Linked DNA regions of Homo sapiens: region 1 is linked to region 2. Evidence: promoter capture Hi-C in human tissues and cell types (Jung and others, 2019). All regions are on one chromosome and are shown on one strand. The core of a region is centred on a gene start or on the middle of the fragment in contact, and the rest is flanking DNA. Distances in the headings are between cores, read along the strand shown. Region 1 holds the start of ZNF136 (zinc finger protein 136). Region 2 overlaps ZNF878 (zinc finger protein 878).

Region 1 (2,700 bases), core at 155-2,654, 120 kb after region 2:
CGGCCTTGATTTTTCTATGTATAGAGTTGCTGCAGTCAGGCTGTAATTTGTATATATGAAGAAAATATGTAAAGATCATATTTAGAGACTCATTTAGGTAGCGTTCCAGAGAAATGGTTTATGAGCTAGAGAGGTTGGAATTTCAAGGGGCCTAAATTGACCACAGGTGAGAGTTTTCTGCTGGTGTAAATTATTAAGGTATTGAAGGAGGGAGCGTTCCCACATTGTGATGCTGTGACAGGAGGGCATGTTGAGCTCCCAGAGTTAAATCCTTAGGTTTCCTGCCTCATCATCAGGGTCTAATGTACTCTGTGGCTCCACTTCAGCAGTCACTGACTCTTAAGCTTGGGAATATGTTCTACCTTCTGAATTCATCTTTTCCTTTTTAAATGTTCTGAAGTGCCCTGCTTATCTGAGCTAGTTCAAATTTTCGCTTTACTTCCCTTTTGATTTCTTTACAGATTACGGAAATAGAACTTGTTTTTCCATGTATTTAATAATTTTATTCACTTGTTGGCAGTTTTTTATTTTCTTGGGTGAAAATGAGTAGATTGATTTGGGAGGCGAAAGTGGGAGGTTCACTTGAGGCTAGGAGTTCAAGACCAGCCTGGACAACAAACGAAATCCCGTCTCTACAAAAAATTAAAGAATTTGCCGGGCTTGGTGGCATGTACCTGTAGTCTCTACTACTCAGGGGACTGAAGCGGAAGGTTCGCTTGAACCCAGGAGATGGAGGCTGCAGTGAGCTATGATCATGCCATTGCACTCTAACCTGGGTGGCAGAGCTAGACCCTGTCTCAAATAAATAAATAAAGTAATAAATAAGTAAATAAAGTAATAAATAAGTAAATAAAGTAAAAAATAGAGAGAGATAAAGAGGTATGGTATGAGAAAGCCTTGGGCACGCTTCCCATATCCTCATCCCAAATTTCCGATCCCTGGGAATATCACGCCCTTTCTTCTGTTCCAGTCCTGCCTGGAACTCCCTGCGCACACCTGTGACTCCTCATGCAAGAGGTAGATGAAGAAATGACCCACTGAGTACAGGAAGTATCTCCTTTGGTAAACCCGGATTAAGTTCTGCTAAAATGCAAGTATCTCCCATCTCCCCATCCCCCGCAGACCAAGTACAGTGAAGGGGACGAGGGGAAGAAGTCCACCCTGCGTTTGAGGGCTGGGGCCAAGACCCCTCATTCCCGCTTCACTCATCTATGCTTCACATCTCCTGTCATTCACATCTGTCAAGATGCAGGGGGCAGAGCCCGAAGCTGTACCCAATCAGGGGCACCGGGGAGGAGCTCTGCGATCGGTCCAATCAGGCGCGCCGTCGGGGACGCAGCTGCAGACGTTCAACCTTCTCGCGGGATTTTCATTTCTCGCGTCTGCCGTACTTGGTTTCGCTTCGCTAGTCCCAGAGGCCCAGAGTGGCTCGCCTGGAGTCTCTGTGGCGCGGTTTCCTGTACCTGCCTTGGGATCCGGAGGGAGGAAGCTGGGACACCCGGGAGTCAGGAAATGGTGAGTGTGTCGGGCCCTGCGTCCCGAGACAGGGAGGAGGGGCTGGTTGGACGACCGGAACTGGCTGTGGCGCGGCCCGGGCCTTCCCGTGGGCGACTCTGGGTCTGCGTACCGAGTCCCTCTGGCGCAGCTCAGCCCTTGGTACCCTCGGCCTCAGGGTGGGGCTGGGCCGGCAGCCGGGACCCCGGGCGTCCTCGTCCCGCCCTGTGCCGCGATTGCGGCCCCGGCCCCGAAGACCCAAGTCTCTTCAGATTGTGCGGGGCCCACGCGAGGGTCATGGGGTGGGGGAAATCCTGACTTGTGCGTGGAAGGAGCTGTGGTGTATGAGGTTCCCAGTTCCTTTTCTCTCCACAGAGGACACCCGTTTTTCCCTGAGTTTTCTAAGTGTATGGGATGCAGGGTCCCAAATCCTCACTCTGTCCCCCAGCCTGCTGTTTCCAGGGCTTGCAGTAAATCCCCAAATTTCCTGTTCTCTTTTCGCTTTTCCAAACGCCAACCTCTCCCCTTCCATTCACGACATTAGCAACCGTTTCTCCTATATTCTACATTTCAGATATTGTGCTTTCATTGTTTATTTTTCAACAAAGCAATGGATTACTCTTTCATCAAGGTTTGTTTTCTGTTCATAGCCTTGACACTCCGCTGTAAGAAACCTTTGTGCTTGTCCTTTTGTCTCCTCTATGCACAGATACCTCATCAGAATGTCTTTGAGTTGAGGTTCCCCTTTGGAATCTTTACAGGGTGATATGCCTTCAGCGCCCCCTCCTATTTATTTTTTCCTGGTTCTGGGTTTCAAAACTGTCTGGGGCTGACTCAAGCTGCCCACAGCTGCCAAGTCTCTTGGAGGATCTAGTGAATATTGGGTCTTGGGTGAGTCTTCCTAGAGGACAGTTGAAATAGAAGGCTGGGAGAATGCCCTGGGACTAGGATAAATCTAGCATACCCTGCTTCTAAATAGCCAACCTCTGGGGGCACTCAGCTTTTCCTCCCCCAACCCCAGTTTCCATCCTTTGGAGACACACTGGTGGTCAGCCAATCAGATGCTGGTATTGAGGATTGAGAAAAGAAAATTTTTTGTGTGTTTTGAAAGAGTCTCGCTCTGTCGCCTAGGCTGGAGTGCAGTGACGTGATCTCGGCTCACTGCAACCTCCATCTTCTGGGTTCAAGCGATTCTCCTGCCTCAGC
Region 2 (2,700 bases), core at 98-2,597:
CCTTACATTCATAAGGCTTTTCCCCAGTGTGAGTTCTTCCATGTATTGCAAGGCTACTGGAATAACTAAAGGCTCTGAGGTGCCTATTAAGGGATGAAAGACCTATGCCGATTTCTCCACACACACTGCTTTCATATGATTGTACTCCAGGAGTTTTCTTCTTCAGTGTGTCATCTGGAACCTGTGTCAAAACTTCTCCATGCTGATGACTTTCTTTACTTTCAGAGAGTCTCTCCCCTATAAGTCTTCTGTGAACAATGAAAGCACATTATAATGGGTTTATCACTAATTTTAATTCCTTTGCAAGTATTACACTTGCATTTTTAACAGTGCCCAGCAAAGTGTAGGCTTTCTGTCCTGTCTGAACATGAATGGAACACATGCTATACAAGATGGCCTAGCCAGGCCAGGCATGGTGGCTCACGCCTGTAATCCCAGCACTTTGGGAGGCCGAGGAGGGTGGATCATGAGGTCAGGAGATCGAGACCATCCTGGCTAACATGGTGAAACCCTGTCTCTACTAAAAAATACAAAAAATTAGCCGGGCGTGGTGGCAGGTGCCTGCAGTCCCAGCTACGGGGAGGCTGAGGCAGGAGAATAGTGTGAACCCGGGAGGCAGAGCTTACAGTGAGCCGAGATCACACCGCTGCACTCCAGCCTGGGTGACAGAGCGAGACACTGTCTCAAACAAACAAACAAAGATGGCCCAGCCATATCTCTTATCAAAAAAGATAATATTGATACAGGGATTTTAAATGCTTTATTTATTTATTTATTTATTTATGAGACCAAGTCTCACTCTGTCGTCAGGCTGGAGTGCAGTGGCACCATCCTGGCTCACTGCAACCTCCGCCTCCCAGGTTCAAGCGATTCTCCTGCCTCAGCCTCCCAAGGACTACAGGCACGCACCACCACGCCCAGCTAATTTCTCGTATTTTTAGTAGAGACAGGCTTTCACCATGTTGGCCAGGATGGTCTCAATCTCTTGACCTCATGATCCACCCACCTCAGCCTTCCAAAGTGCTGGGATTACAGGTGTGAGCCACCATGTCCAGCTTTTACATGCTATTTTAAAGTAGACTATTTTATAAATACGGTCTTTGTCTTTTTGTCTGTTTAGTTTTGAGTCAGGGTCTCACCCTGTGGCCCAGGCTGCCCTCCAGTGATGCCATCATGACTCAGTGCAACCTCAAACTCCCAGGTTCAAGCGATCTTCCATCCTGACCTCCAAAAGGGCTGGATTATACACATAAGCCATGTCACACTTTATATGTTTCTAGGGAAGCTTTTCTAAGAATAAATACATTGGAACTAGGTTTGTTTCTTATGCTTGCTTCTTTTTAACCTTTTCTTCCATTCTAAGATTGTATACAGAGACATTGTTTTCTCTTTTAAGTGCCAGTTACCTTAGGTTTCTCCTAGGATTTTGGTGCTCATCTTCAATGTACTGGTTGTTCCATTTTTTTCCTAAAATGCGGACCCAGAAAAATAGTCCTGAATTAGTATAAAATTATTTTAAAAAGTTACTTGATTCTATGTCCATGGCTCATTGCACCTGTGTCTCATTTATTCAAAGTATTCCCTGACCATATTCCAAATCACTCAACAGCACTGATGAGCTAGAAACACCTGTTCTTTAATTCACTGAGGGAAGTAATACTGTCATTCTTACCTATGGAGGTCAGGTTCCTCAAGGTTTCCTGCATCACTTCCCTGTAGAGATTTTTCTGGGAAGGATCCAGCAAAGCCCACTCCTCCTGGGTGAAGTTCACAGCCACATCCTCAAAGGCCACCGAATCCTGAAATATCCCACATGTGGACAGGAGGATGAGTGAGGCTGACAGCACTGGGTTTCTATACCCTATTCCTAGGAAGTTCTCAGGATGCTGTGGTGTGTGGACTCCAAACATTTATTCCATGACTTGGTCATCAGATCCCTTACTCTGTCTACACTCACTTTCTTCCATAAAACAATTTTGATGCTAGAGTTGAACTCTGGATGGGGTAAAGCAACAGCAGAATAGGAAAAATGTGTGTTTCTGGTGAGTCCAGGGAGAAAGTCGTGCTGCCTGGACTGCCCTTAATGTCCGAAGTGTGGATCTGCAGCACCTATCTTAACAAACTCCTTTGAATTTCTGAGCAAAACAAATTTAACGTGAGCAGCCCTAAGCCTGCATATTCTTGAAAACGCCTGTTCACAAAGTTGAACCTTTGTGATGACTAGAAAGTGGGTTTTCTTCTGATTCCAGTAGCAGAAGCCAAAAACAAAAAAACTGGGTTTGGCAAGGGGCTTTATTAATCTAACTGATAAGAGAGTCTGGCCAGGCACGGTGGCTCATGCCTATAAATCTCAGCACTTTGGGAGGTGAAGGCGGGCGGATCGCCTGAGGTCAGGAGTTTGAGACCAACCTGGCCAACATGGCAAAACCCCGTCTCTACTAAAAATAATAAAATTAGCCAGGCATAGTGATGGGCTCCTGTAATTCCAGCTACTTGGGAGACTGAAGCAGGAGAATCACTTGAACCCATGAGGCAGAGGTTGCAGTGAGCCAAAAACGTGCCACCACACTCCAGCCTGGGTGACAGAGCCAGACTCCATCGGTTAAAAAAAAAAAAAAATTCTAATTGATAAGAGAGTCATAACTAACTAAAACAAAAACTCACAAAAAGAAACCTTTCTGGGAAACTGTATGTAGATAG

What was found. The method cuts DNA at HindIII sites, captures the fragments that hold promoters and counts their contacts. A contact is called where the count stands out against the background at its distance.
Region 1: the fragment with the promoter of ZNF136 here is called in contact with a fragment that was not itself captured in region 2 in 2 of the 25 tissues and cell types used here (bladder and heart right ventricle).

Annotation. Positions count from the first base shown.
Region 1 is chr19:12,161,692-12,164,391 of GRCh38, forward strand. It overlaps ZNF136 (zinc finger protein 136), which reads left to right and starts at 1,405. Exons shown (of 4, transcript NM_003437.5): 1 at 1,405-1,515. The coding sequence starts at 1,513. RefSeq lists enhancers at 1,246-1,335, 1,346-1,505. The HindIII fragment of the contact is 18,447 bases long and covers 1-2,700 here.
Region 2 is chr19:12,044,962-12,047,661 of GRCh38, forward strand. It overlaps ZNF878 (zinc finger protein 878), which reads right to left. Exons shown (of 4, transcript NM_001080404.3): 2 at 1,673-1,799; 3 at 1,407-1,467; 4 at 1-248. ZNF433-AS1 (ZNF433 and ZNF878 antisense RNA 1) reads left to right here. Exons shown (of 3, transcript NR_134929.1): 3 at 1,121-1,314. Among named protein-coding and RNA genes, the nearest start is that of ZNF878, 6.6 kb to the right of the region's middle. The HindIII fragment of the contact is 5,656 bases long and covers 1-2,700 here.